Regions from separate parts of the Homo sapiens genome. Here region 2 is linked to region 1. Evidence: promoter capture Hi-C in human tissues and cell types (Jung and others, 2019). All regions are on one chromosome and are shown on one strand. Each heading gives the region's core, a stretch centred on a gene start or on the middle of the fragment in contact. The rest is flanking DNA. Distances are from core to core; before and after follow the strand shown. Region 1 holds the start of LRFN4 (leucine rich repeat and fibronectin type III domain containing 4). Region 2 holds the start of CTSF (cathepsin F).

Region 1 (6,426 bases), core at 1-2,500:
CATCCAACTCTCCTGGCCTACAGGAGGAACTTGTTTTCAGTGGTCAGGTAACGTGCCCAGGACTACACTGCTGTGCTGACAGGATCAGAATTCCAATCTTGGGTTTCCCCGAGTTTCCTGCCACCTGGCCCATGGGGATCAGGGCTGGAGGGAGAACGAGGATGGCTGAGGTTTAGGTGGCTTAAGGACCAGGAGACACGGGGAGGTGGTGACTTCCTGTTTCCCAACTGGGCAGACCACTGGTGGTGGCGGGCACAGCTGGAAGGAAACCAGGCTCGCCGAGCCACCGAAGCCCCAGCTTTCTCAACCAGGAAGCAAAGAACCTCCCCCACCTCACGCCGGGAGCCCTTTCTCTGAGAGGAGCTGGTTCCGAGCCGCTCTTCCAGGGAAATGGCCCGGCGGCGACAGAGCGGGAGGGAGGGGCCGCAGGCGCTGCGAGGACGCACAGCTTCCCAATGCGTGCCCCCGGCGGTTGGGAAGCCGCGCCGCGCAGACCAATCCGGCCCGAGGCGGAGGCCGGTTGGCTCCGGAACGCCTGGCCCGCGGGGCGGGCGGGGCAGCTGGGGAGGGAGGGAGAGGCGAGAGGCAGCTGGGGACAGGGCGGGGCGGCGGGGGCGGGGCGCCTGCCCGGAGGCCAAGCCCTCTCGGCCCCACCCCGCAGCAGCCCTGCCAGGGGCGCCGCCCCAGCCCCCCCCACGGCCGAACCCCGTGCCGGTTGGGGACCCTCCACGTGACTCGGTGATGCAGAACGGTTATGACCTTCAGCGTGTGTCTGTGAACGCAAGGGTCCCAGCAACAGTGCGGGTTTGCGCTCGGCCCTGCCCGTGGGTGCAGGGACGTGTGGGTGTGTGGGCATGTGTGGGTGTGTTGGGGAGGGTGCCCAGCGACATGTGACAAAGACGCCCGTCTCCGGGAGATGGTGAAGGGGCCCGCGAGCAGGCGCTTTGTCTGGCTGTCTGCAGAGTGAGGTTCGCGCCGCGGCGGCGGGCGCCCGTGCGGTGCAGGATGCCGGGGCGCCAGGATGGCCGGGGGCGCGCGCGCCTGTGCCAGGGTGAGTGCGCTGCGGCAGCGCCGGGGGACAGCGCGGAGGGCCCGCGCCGGCCCGGGCCTCGGGCGTGACTGGGCGCCACCCGTGGGCGCTGCAGCGGCCGCGTGTCCCCGTGACCTCAGGAGCCGGCCCGGGCCCGGGTGGATCCCCGCGCGCCCCTCCCCGTCCGCCCTCCACGTGCGTGTCCGCGGCGCGCGCGCCCGCCGGCGCGCACCCGCTCGCCTGTCGCCGCCGCCACCGCTAACCGCGCCGGGAAAAGGTGCCGGGAACCGAGCGAGCCGGGGCCGCGGGCCCGAGCGCCATGGGCCCGAGGGTGGGCGGCGGGCGGCCGGTCATCCCCGGGCCTCGTCCCCGCGGGAGAGCGGCCAGGAGTCGGCGGGGGCCGGCCGGGCTCGCAGGGAGGCCGGCCCGCGCCCCCTGAGCGACGGACACCAGGTGAGGGGGCCGCCGGGCGCAGCGCGGGGGCCGGCCAGGGAGGGGCCACGGACTCCACGGGAGGTTCGGGGGGCGCCTTCTCTGGCGGGGGAGGGTATGGCGGGGAGTGGGGAGGCGGCTGGCGATTCCTGGGGACGCCTGGGAAAGGAAGTTCCGGGACCCTCCCTGCTCTCGGTCCTCCTCCGCTTCCTGCCTCATGCCTCACCTTGTCCCCAGCGCCTGGACTCCCCCTTAACTGCTTGGGAAATGTGACCTTTGCTCTGGGGGGCCTGGCCCTGCAGGCCCCAACCTTCCCTCATCTCTGGCGGCCCTCTTGGGCCTCTGACCCAGCCCCTCCCCGGGCCAGGCTCACAGAAGCTGGCTTCTGGGACTGTCCTGGGCCCAAGTGGGCACCTGCGCCAGCCCCACCTGTGCCTGGGCTGTGGCCCCTTCCTACAGGGCGCTCACCATGGCCCCGCCGCTCCTGCTGCTGCTGCTGGCCAGTGGAGCGGCCGCCTGCCCGCTGCCCTGCGTCTGCCAGAACCTGTCCGAGTCGCTCAGCACCCTCTGTGCCCACCGAGGCCTGCTGTTTGTGCCGCCCAACGTGGACCGGCGCACAGTGGAGCTGCGGCTGGCTGACAACTTCATCCAGGCCCTGGGGCCCCCTGACTTCCGCAACATGACGGGACTGGTGGACCTGACACTGTCTCGCAATGCCATCACCCGCATTGGGGCCCGCGCCTTTGGGGACCTCGAGAGCCTGCGTTCCCTCCACCTTGACGGCAACAGGCTGGTGGAGCTGGGCACCGGGAGCCTCCGGGGCCCCGTCAATCTGCAGCACCTCATCCTCAGCGGCAACCAGCTGGGCCGCATCGCGCCGGGAGCCTTCGACGACTTCCTAGAGAGCCTGGAGGACCTGGACCTGTCCTACAACAACCTCCGGCAGGTGCCCTGGGCCGGCATCGGCGCCATGCCTGCCCTGCACACCCTCAACCTGGACCATAACCTTATTGACGCACTGCCCCCAGGCGCCTTCGCCCAGCTCGGTCAGCTCTCCCGCCTGGACCTCACCTCCAACCGCCTGGCCACGCTGGCTCCGGACCCGCTTTTCTCTCGTGGGCGTGATGCAGAGGCCTCTCCCGCCCCCCTGGTGCTGAGCTTTAGCGGGAACCCCCTGCACTGCAACTGTGAGCTGCTGTGGCTGCGGCGGCTGGCGCGGCCGGACGACCTGGAAACGTGCGCCTCCCCGCCCGGCCTGGCCGGCCGCTACTTCTGGGCAGTGCCCGAGGGCGAGTTCTCCTGTGAGCCGCCCCTCATTGCCCGCCACACGCAGCGCCTCTGGGTGCTGGAAGGCCAGCGGGCCACGCTGCGGTGCCGGGCCCTGGGTGACCCCGCGCCTACCATGCACTGGGTCGGTCCTGACGACCGGTTGGTTGGCAACTCCTCCCGAGCCCGGGCTTTCCCCAACGGGACCTTAGAGATTGGGGTGACCGGCGCTGGGGACGCTGGGGGCTACACCTGCATCGCCACCAACCCTGCTGGTGAGGCCACAGCCCGAGTAGAACTGCGGGTGCTGGCCTTGCCCCATGGTGGGAACAGCAGTGCCGAGGGGGGCCGCCCCGGGCCCTCGGACATCGCCGCCTCCGCTCGCACTGCTGCCGAGGGTGAGGGGACGCTGGAGTCTGAGCCAGCCGTGCAGGTGACGGAGGTGACCGCCACCTCAGGGCTGGTGAGCTGGGGTCCCGGGCGGCCAGCCGACCCAGTGTGGATGTTCCAAATCCAGTACAACAGCAGCGAAGATGAGACCCTCATCTACCGGTGAGGATGCGTGCCCCACACCCGGCTGCACTCCCGGCGCCCTTCCTCCGCCCTCTGCTCCCCACAAGGCTTTGCTTCCACCCCTCCTCTCTCTGGGGCTGACACCCCCTCCCCGACCATGGCTGCTGGACTCTTGGAGGAGCAGTGGCCTGGCCTGGCCTGGCTGCCTGAGGGGGCTGGAGCTCAAGGGGCGGCAGAAGGACCCCACCCCGAGATGTCCCAGGTGTCACTGAGCTGTGCAGGCCTCCCCGGCAGCAGGTGGCGGTTGGGTCTGTCTGAAGCACATGGCCCGCGCCCGCGTGTTATTTCTGCCTCTGCTGGTGCCATCCCCCCACCCCATTCCCCTCGCTTGCCTGCGTCCTGTGCCAGTGCACACACCCATCTCCTGGCCACACTCTCCAGCCTGTTCACCTTCCTGAGTGAACCCAAGAGCCCGAGTGGCCCCAGGGGGAGGGGTGTTTGGAGCTGGGAGCACGGGAGTGGGGAGGTGAGGATGGGGCTAGACCCCAGCCCCGGGCTCTGACCACCTGCCCTTGCCTGCAGGATTGTCCCAGCCTCCAGCCACCACTTCCTGCTGAAGCACCTCGTCCCCGGCGCTGACTATGACCTCTGCCTGCTGGCCTTGTCACCGGCCGCTGGGCCCTCTGACCTCACGGCCACCAGGCTGCTGGGCTGTGCCCATTTCTCCACGCTGCCGGCCTCGCCCCTGTGCCACGCCCTGCAGGCCCACGTGCTGGGCGGGACCCTGACCGTGGCCGTGGGGGGTGTGCTGGTGGCTGCCTTACTGGTCTTCACTGTGGCCTTGCTGGTTCGGGGCCGGGGGGCCGGAAATGGCCGCCTCCCCCTCAAGCTCAGCCACGTCCAGTCCCAGACCAATGGAGGCCCCAGCCCCACACCCAAGGCCCACCCGCCGCGGAGCCCCCCGCCCCGGCCGCAGCGCAGCTGCTCTCTGGACCTGGGAGATGCCGGGTGCTACGGTTATGCCAGGCGCCTGGGAGGAGCTTGGGCCCGACGGAGCCACTCTGTGCATGGGGGGCTGCTCGGGGCAGGGTGCCGGGGGGTAGGAGGCAGCGCCGAGCGGCTGGAAGAGAGTGTGGTGTGATGGACGGGCAGCTTCCTGTGTGCTCCAAGGGATGAGCCTCGTGGGGCAGAGGGCCCGGGGCCGCCGCCTGGCCTGGGAGTCCCTCCCTGGTTTTTATTCTCAGTACCTCAGGCTCCCCTGTGTACTTGGAGGGGCAGGGAGCCCTTTCCTCGGTTCTGGCCTCCAGACCAGGGTAAGGGCAGGCCCCTCCAACAGGTGCTCACAGCCACCGAGGCAGGGGCTGCAGCCACCCACTGGGAGTCTTGTTTTTATTTATAATAAAATTGTTGGGGACACCTCAGTGCTAGTCTCTGGTGTTGTCTGGCTAGGTCCCCCGAGACGGGAGGACAGGACACGGGCCGCTGGTGGCACACGGACAAGGGTGGGGCTACCAGGGCCGGTGGGGGCAGTCACAGCAGCCTGGGGCCTCCTGGCTTCCTGTCCACAGGGGCGGCCCAGGGCTGCGGCCAAGGGCTGTGCCTGGTGTCTTCTGACCTGCAAGAGCATGGGCTTGGGCAGGCGGCCTACCCTCGCCTGTAAGTGCAAAGAACGCCCCTTCCTGCCAGGTGGCGACAGGACGCCGTATCCAGTGTAAAGCCTGGGGAGCACGTGTGAGCGCCTTCCCCATGGCACTTCAGGGTCTGCGGGGCGGACACAGGACTGGACTAAGCAACAGGAGGAGGTGGGGGACGGTACAGCCCTCTGGGAGAACGGACCTGGGCTGAGCGTACAGTGAAAAGTCCTCATGGCTCCAGGTGCTGACAGCTGTGTCTGCCACCTCCCAGGGCATCTTGTGGACTGGTAAAACGCCATCCCAAAGGGACTGGAAGGGCAGGGAACCCCACTGCTCTGCCATCAGCCCGTGATCCTCTGGAAGGTTCCTGTCAGAACTGTGGGTCCGAGCAGGACCGCAGCTGCCAGCTCAGATGTGCTCTGGGCCTTCCTGGGAAGGCGGCCTTCGCCCTCCCTCGCTGCAGGGAGGCAGCCGGATGGGCACGAGCCCTGCTTTCTCTGCTAGGACCCCTGGCCAGGCCCGGGCAGCCTCCGACCTGGCCCAGCCCCTGCAGCCTCCTGAACTATCTGCTTCTAGGCACTGGCTGGGGGGCATGGGCAGACGTGGCCCTCAGCCCTGCAGAGGGTCAAGCTCCCCCAGGTGCTGTATGAAAACTCAGAAGGCGGCCCTGGCACCCCAGGCCACGGCAAACACGCTGCACAGACTCCCTGGTGTTTTCTGTGTGAGGGCCAAGGCGCTGCCACCGGGCAGCCGAGGTGAGGCAGGTGCTCTAAGGCATACGTGTGTTCACGTGTGCATGGACCTGGCTCACACGCGTGTGCCTGCCCTCCCAGCCCCAGAACATGCAGCTAGAGGTGGGCTTCGAGAGCCTGGTTTAGATGAATGGGAGCAAGGTCCTCGACAGAGAAGGGTGTGGGGAGCGAACGCCATGGAGGAGTGGGCGGGGGCGCGGGACAGGGTGGGTGGGCACAGACGGCAAAGGGACAGGAGGGCCAGGGCTGCCACGCTGGGCGCTAGCATGAGGCTCAGGAGGCGGCTAGAGCCAGCGGCCTGGTCTTGGTGCACATTTGGGGAGGACTTGGCACCCCCAGACACCAGAGACACTTATCCTGCTGCTGGCCCCGTGGTCACGGTCTCTAGTGCCCCTTTCTCCACCTGGGGGGCGGGGGACGGTCTAAAGAGGAAGATCTTTCCGGGCCCTCCAGGGTGCAGAAGCCCACCTCTAGCTGCACCCCTAGCAGGCGCAAGGTTCTAGGGCCCAGGGACCAGCTTGGCACGTGGGGAGCTGCTGAGGGTGAGGAGGGAGCAGAGGAACCGGGCACAACCCCAGGAGCCAGCCAGGACCACAGAGCAACGGGCAGGGGCAGGCGAGGGGGATGGCCTGGGTCACCCCTGTGCATGGCCACGCATCCCCTCAACACCGAAGCAGCCGCAGGACATCCCCGCCAGGACACCAGGAGCCGCAGCAAGGTGCAGGGGGAGCGCGTGATGTCGACAGCTGATGTCGCGACACACCTCTGCCTATGTGCACGACAGGGACCCCCAACAGGG
Region 2 (6,043 bases), core at 1-2,500, 290 kb before region 1:
GAAACCCACTCCAGAGGGAAGGGAGAAGGGTGATGAGGCAGCGGCTGGCTCCTCAAGCTGAGGGCTCCTCAAGCTGAGGGCTCCTCACCTGGGACAGGGGATCCTCATTCAACAGGGAAATGACTGAGCTGAAAGTCTCGTTTCTGTTGTCTGGATGGTTTTGGGACAGAGAAGAAATCATGGCTGAGCCCTGAGTGAAGGCTGACTTGGGCTCCCCAGCACCTGGAACCTTGGTGTCCACTGGGCCACAGTCCTTCCGCAGCAGCACGTGTCTTCCGAGCTCATCCAGGACTTGGAAGCTGCAGAGCTGGAGGGAGAGGAAGAAGCTGCTCTGGGGGCCTGGATCTGGATCTGGGGAGCAAGATCTGGCCAAGATGGAGCTGGAGGCTCCTCAGATGAGAGCCACCCCTAAGGCAATCACCCCATCACAGTGGACAGTGAGGCACGGCCTGCACCGGGGCATCCTCCCCTTCATAGCATCTTGGTTTCCAGCCCTCGGGGCCTGGGAAGTGGCTCAAGGTGGGGCAGCAGCTACCTCAGATCCCTGCGTCTTGACCTGACCCGTCATCATCCAACTGCTGCTTTACTCGGCCTCGGGGCGGGGAACCCCAAGAGCCTCATCACTCACCAGGGTTTTCTTGGACACGGGGAGCCGGCACACCATGGGGTCGTTGCAGGGTGGCTCCTCCAGGGTGGCCTCCAGGGAGTACAGCGACCCCTGACCCGCCTGGAGAGAGGAGTAGGTGAGGCGGGCACAGTCGGCCCTTGACGGCGCCCAAGGCCCCGCCCGTGCGGCGCTGCCCATTCCCCATCACCAGAGATCGGTTCGTCCAGCGGGCAGGCCCCATCCCAATGTTAGGTCAAAGCTCCTATCCCTTGGACCCGGGCCTGGCGCCCCCGCCCCCGGCGCGTCCTCACCCGGCGGACGCGGCCGCGCACAAGGCCCAGCACGGCCCGCGTCCCCGCAGCCCGGCCGCGGTTGAACATCTCCAGCGCGAAGCGGGTGGGCGCCAGCAGCTCCGGGGACGGCGGCCCCCAGGCCTGAAAGCTGGCGGCTCGGGGCTGGGCGGGGGCGGCCACTGCGCCCGGGAGCAGCCCCAGCAGCGACAGGAGCTGCAGCCAGGGCGCCATGGCGAGGGCGAAGCCGGCGGCCCGGACCCAACAGACGCTCCACCGACCCACCGGGTACCGAGCCCGCGGCCAGCGGGGCCTGAGTCCTCCCTCCAGCGGGGCGACGGCACGCCGACCAATGGGCGCTGGTTTGCGGCGCCTGCGCGTTCTCTTGTTTACAGGAGGCACGTGGGGCGCGCAGGGTAGGGAGAGCGGGAGGCTGCTGGCCTGAGGCTAAAGCTAGTCACTGACCTCTATCACGTGCTTGTTATATGTTAGGCATGATATGCCAGCTCCTTTTATTCGGCGTAGCAATCTCTGAAGTAGGTGCTATCCCCATCGTACAGTGGAGGAAACGAGGCTTGGAGAGATTAAATGGCGTGGCCGGGCTCTGTGACTCAGCCCTGTAATCCCAGCACTTTAGGAGGCCAAAGCGGGTGGATCACCTGAGGTCAGGAGTTTGAGACCAGTCTGGCACACGTGGTGAAACCCTGTGTCTACTAAAAATACAAAAAAGAGCTGGGCGTGGTGGTGGGCGCCTGTAATCCCAGCTACTTGGGAGGCTGAGCCAGGAGAATCACTTGAACCCAGGAGGCAGAGGTTGCAGTGAGCTCAGATCGTGCCATTGCACTCCAGCCCAGGCGACAAGAGCAAAACTCCGTCTCAAAAAAGAGAGAGAGAGAAATATTAAGTGGCTTGCCAAATATCTGGTAAGGAATTGAGCTAAACTTAAATCCAGGCAGTTGGCTTCTGAGCCTGGGTTTGCAGCTTGATCGCCTCTTTCAGGCCCCTCTTCTCAACAGCGAGATGGCAGGTAATTTTTTGAGTGCTGGCAGCGTCTCAGGCTGTTGTGAGGTTCAAATGCAATCATGCAAGCATTCAGTAGCCACTAAGGCAGGGTGCACAGGGTTGAGACTGTCCCTTGAAGCATTCACCTGCTGTGTTCCAGGGTCTACCAAGGGAAAGCATGCACAGATGCATTACAGGAATAGTGCTGCGTTCTTGGAGCTCACAGTCTAGAGAGAAGAACGACAGATGGGCTGGGTGCAGTGTCTCACGCCTGTAATCCCAGCACTTTGGGAGGCCGAGGCGGGCAGATCACCTGAGCTCAGGAGTTCGAGACCAGTCTGGCCAACGAGGTGAAACCCCGTCACTACTAAAAATATTTTTAGGCCGGGCGCAGTGGCTCACGCCTGTAATCCCAGCACTTTGGGAGGCCAAGGTGGGCGGATCACGAGGTCAGGAGATGGAGACCATCCTGGACAACATGGTGAAACCCTGTCTCTACTAAAAATACAAAAAAATTAGCTGGGCATGGTGGCACGTGCCTGTAATCCCAGCTACTCAGGAGGCTGAGGCAGGAGAATCGCTTGAACCAGGGAGTCAGAGGTTGCAGTGAGCTGAGAGCGCACCATTGCACTCCAGCCTGGTAAGACAGTGAGACTCCATCTCAAAAAAAAAAAAAAATTGAAACTGCCTTTGCAAAATTATGACAGTAAGAGAAATCTGACATGGCTGACTGCATCTTGCTTTCTAGCCTCACAGGCTGGCTGTCTTCACTCATTCCTGGGCATGGGCCAAGGTAACTTTTGGATAAATTTAGCTTATACTTTAAATTAGAATACGCCTTCCTGAAAACTAAACCACCCTTGTAAAACTAATGAAAGGCCACCAAGTTAGGAGGATGAGAGGGGCCTGAATTCTACTAAGATGTAGGCATAGTTAAAGGATTACCAGCCATTGTTCTGGAAGTCACAAGATTTGCAACTTTGCCAGTTACTCCTGTAATTAACATCACTATCATGGAATGTAAGACTGATCTTTTGAGCTATCTCTTCCAGGCTTTTGCATTTGTGACTATGGAATGGCCCCACACTGACGTGTGACTCCACCAGTCCTGTGACCCCTACCCAGAAGCAGACTCAGTGCAGGAGGGCCATTTTCCACACTACTATGATTTCATTCCCAAGCAATCAGTAGCACCCATATCCTAGCCGCCTGCCTACCAAACTATCTTTGAAAAACCCCGACCTCCAAGCCTTCAGTGAGACTGATTGAGTAATAACCCTGTCTCCTGTGTGGCATGGCAGGTCTTGTGTCAGTTAAACTCGTTCTTTTCTGCAATGCTATGGTCTCTGAATTGATTTTGTTTGTGCAGTAGGCAGGAAGAACCCATCTGGGAATTACAAGATCATCTAGTTCAAACCAGAATTGCTACAGCAGCAGAGGTCTAGAGAGACAAAGTGACATTCCAGCTACTCAGACATTAGTGCTGGAGCCAGAGTGGAGCCATCTCAATGCTTCCAGTTGCCAGCTGAGGTCTGAGAGGAGAGGATCTGAGGGATTGCAGCAGATACTAATCTTTCCTTGATTATGCTCTTCCCTCTGTAAATTAAAAATAAAATTCTAATCCCCTCCAACCATCTGAATGGACCCTTCCTCCCAGTCAAAGACATTCCAACGTTAACCTCAACAATGATAATAGTTCAGGCCATAATGGGAAGTGGAAGTTAGGCATGTTTCATTATACTCTCCTCCCTTTGGAATTGAGGCACAACTGACCAGCATTAACATTACAACAGAGATTTTAGGCTGGGCATGGTGGCTCATGCCTATAATCCCAACACTTTGAGAGACAGAGTTGGGAAGATCACTTGAACCCAGGAGTTTGAGACCAGCCTGGGCAACATGGCAAAACCCCATTTCTACGAAAATACAAACGTTAGCCAGGCATAACGGTGTGCGCCTATAGTCTCAGCTACTTGGGAGTCTGAAGTGAGAGGATCTCTTAATCACAGGAGGTTGAGGTTGCAGTGAACCATAATTATGCCACTGCACTACAGCGTGAGTGACAGGGCAAGACCCTGTTTCAAAAAAAACAAAAAAAAAGGGCCGGACGCAGTGGCTCACGCCTGTAATCCCAACACTTTGGGAGGCCGAGGCAGGTGGATCACGAGGCCAGGAGATGGAGACCATCCTGGCTAACACGGTAAAACCCCATCTCTACTAAAAATACAAAAAATTAGCCGGGCGTGGTGGCAGGCGCCTGCAGTCCCAGCTACTCGGGAGGCTGAGGCAGGAGAATGGCGTGAACCTGGGAGGCGGAGCTTGCAATGAGCCGAGATTGCGCCACTGCACTCCAGCCTGGGTGACAGAGCAAGACTCTGTCTCCAAAAAAAAAAAAAAAAAAAAAGCCAGAGATCTTAAGACTTTTTTGCAGTACATTCAAGAATGTAGCAATAAGACATCAAATTCGGCTGGGCGCGGTGGCTCATGCCTGTAATCCCAGCACTTTGGGAGGCCAAGGCAGGCGGATCACCTGAAGTCAGGAGTTCGAGACCAGCCTGGCCAACATGGTGAAACCCTGTCTCTAATAAAAATACAAAAATTGGCCGGGCGTGGTGGCACAAGCCTGTAATCCCAGACACTCAGGAGGCTGAGGCAGGAGAATTGCTTGAATCCAAGACGTGGAAGGTTGCAGTGAGCCGAGATTGCGCCACTGCACTCTAGCCTGAGCAACAGAGTGAGACTCCATCTCAAAAAAAAAAAAAAATTAGTGGGTCATGGTGGTACATGCCTGTAGTCCCAGCTACTCAGGAGGCTGAGGCAGGAGAATCACCTGAACCCAGGAGGCGGAGGTTACAGTGAGCCGAGATTGCGCCATTGCACTCTAACCTGGGTGACAAGAGCAAAACTCCATCTACAAAAAAAAATAAAATAAAATAAAATACAAAAATTAGCGAGGCATGGTGGTGCGTGCCTGTAACCCCAGCTATTCAGGAGGCTGAGGCTTGAATCTGGGAGGCGGAGGTTGCAGTAAGCTGGGATCGCAGCACTGCACTCCAGCTTGGGCGACAGAGTGAGACTCTGTCTCAAAAAAAAAAGACACTATCCTGACTTTAGTATCACATGATAGATATTGATGTATTTTACCCTAAAATATACTTATTTGACATACTTTGAAATGGCCCTGCAAAGCTGTCCCTGTGGGGAAAATCTACATTCTCCAGAGTCCCTTTCCATTTCTAGGTCTTTTTCCTGATCCAGGAGAGACTTCACTAAGAATTTGGCTTTTTTTTTTTTTTTTTTTGAGACAGAGTCTTGCTCTGTTACCCAGGCTGGAGTGTAATTGTGTGATCTCAGCTTACTGCAACCTCCGCCTCCTGGGTTCAAGCGATTGTCCTGCCTCTGCCTCCTGAGTAGCTGGGATTACAGGCACTTGCCACCATGCCCGGCTAATTTTTTGTATTTTCAGTAAAGACAGGGTTTCACTGTGTTGGCCAGGCTGGTCTCAAACTCCTAACCCTGTGATCTGCCTACCTCAGCCTCCCAAAGTGCTGGGATTACAAGTGGGAGCCACTGTGCCCAGCCGAATCTGGCATCTTACATATGTATGTATGTATGTACGTATGTATTTATTTTTGAGACAGAGTTTCACTCTTGTTGCCCAGGCTGGAGTGCAATGGCGCCATCTCAGCTCACTGCAACCTCCGCCTCCTGGGTTCAAGCGATTCTCCTGCCTCAGTCTCCCTAGTAGTTCCTGCCTCAGCCTCCCTCGTAGCTGGGATTACAGGCATGTGCCAGCACACCCAGCTAATTTTTGTATTTTTAGTAGAGATGGAGTTTCACCATGTTGGTCAGGCTGGTTTTGAACTCCTGACCTCGGGTGATCCACCCACTTCGGCTTTCCGGCCTCCCAAAGTGCTGGAATTATAGGCATGAGCTACCATGCCTGGCCTCTGGCATCTTTTTAAATTTGATAAGAAACATTTACAATCTATTATCTCTGAAGCTTGCTACCTGTAGGCTTCATCTGCATAATAATGTTACAGTCCGCCGGCGGGGTGGCTCATGCCTGTAATCCCAGCACTTTGGGAGGCCAAGGCGGGCGGATCACAAGGTCAGGAGATTGAGACCATTCTGGCTAACAAGG

The links. The method cuts DNA at HindIII sites, captures the fragments that hold promoters and counts their contacts. A contact is called where the count stands out against the background at its distance.
Region 2: the fragment with the promoter of CTSF here is called in contact with the fragment with the promoter of LRFN4 in region 1 in 1 of the 25 tissues and cell types used here (dorsolateral prefrontal cortex).

Annotation. Positions count from the first base shown.
Region 1 is chr11:66,855,814-66,862,239 of GRCh38, forward strand. It overlaps LRFN4 (leucine rich repeat and fibronectin type III domain containing 4), which reads left to right and starts at 1,251. Exons shown (of 2, transcript NM_024036.5): 1 at 1,251-3,280; 2 at 3,824-4,662. The coding sequence starts at 1,932. The coding sequence ends at 4,382. The region is part of intron 12 of PC (pyruvate carboxylase); the gene reads right to left. RefSeq lists silencers at 337-866, 1,027-1,136. The HindIII fragment of the contact is 20,544 bases long and covers 1-6,426 here.
Region 2 is chr11:66,567,356-66,573,398 of GRCh38, forward strand. It overlaps CTSF (cathepsin F), which reads right to left and starts at 1,251. Exons shown (of 13, transcript NM_003793.4): 1 at 919-1,251; 2 at 629-727; 3 at 89-307. The coding sequence starts at 1,131. RefSeq lists silencers at 1,300-1,369, 2,743-3,037 and an enhancer at 5,617-6,043. The HindIII fragment of the contact is 11,953 bases long and covers 1-6,043 here.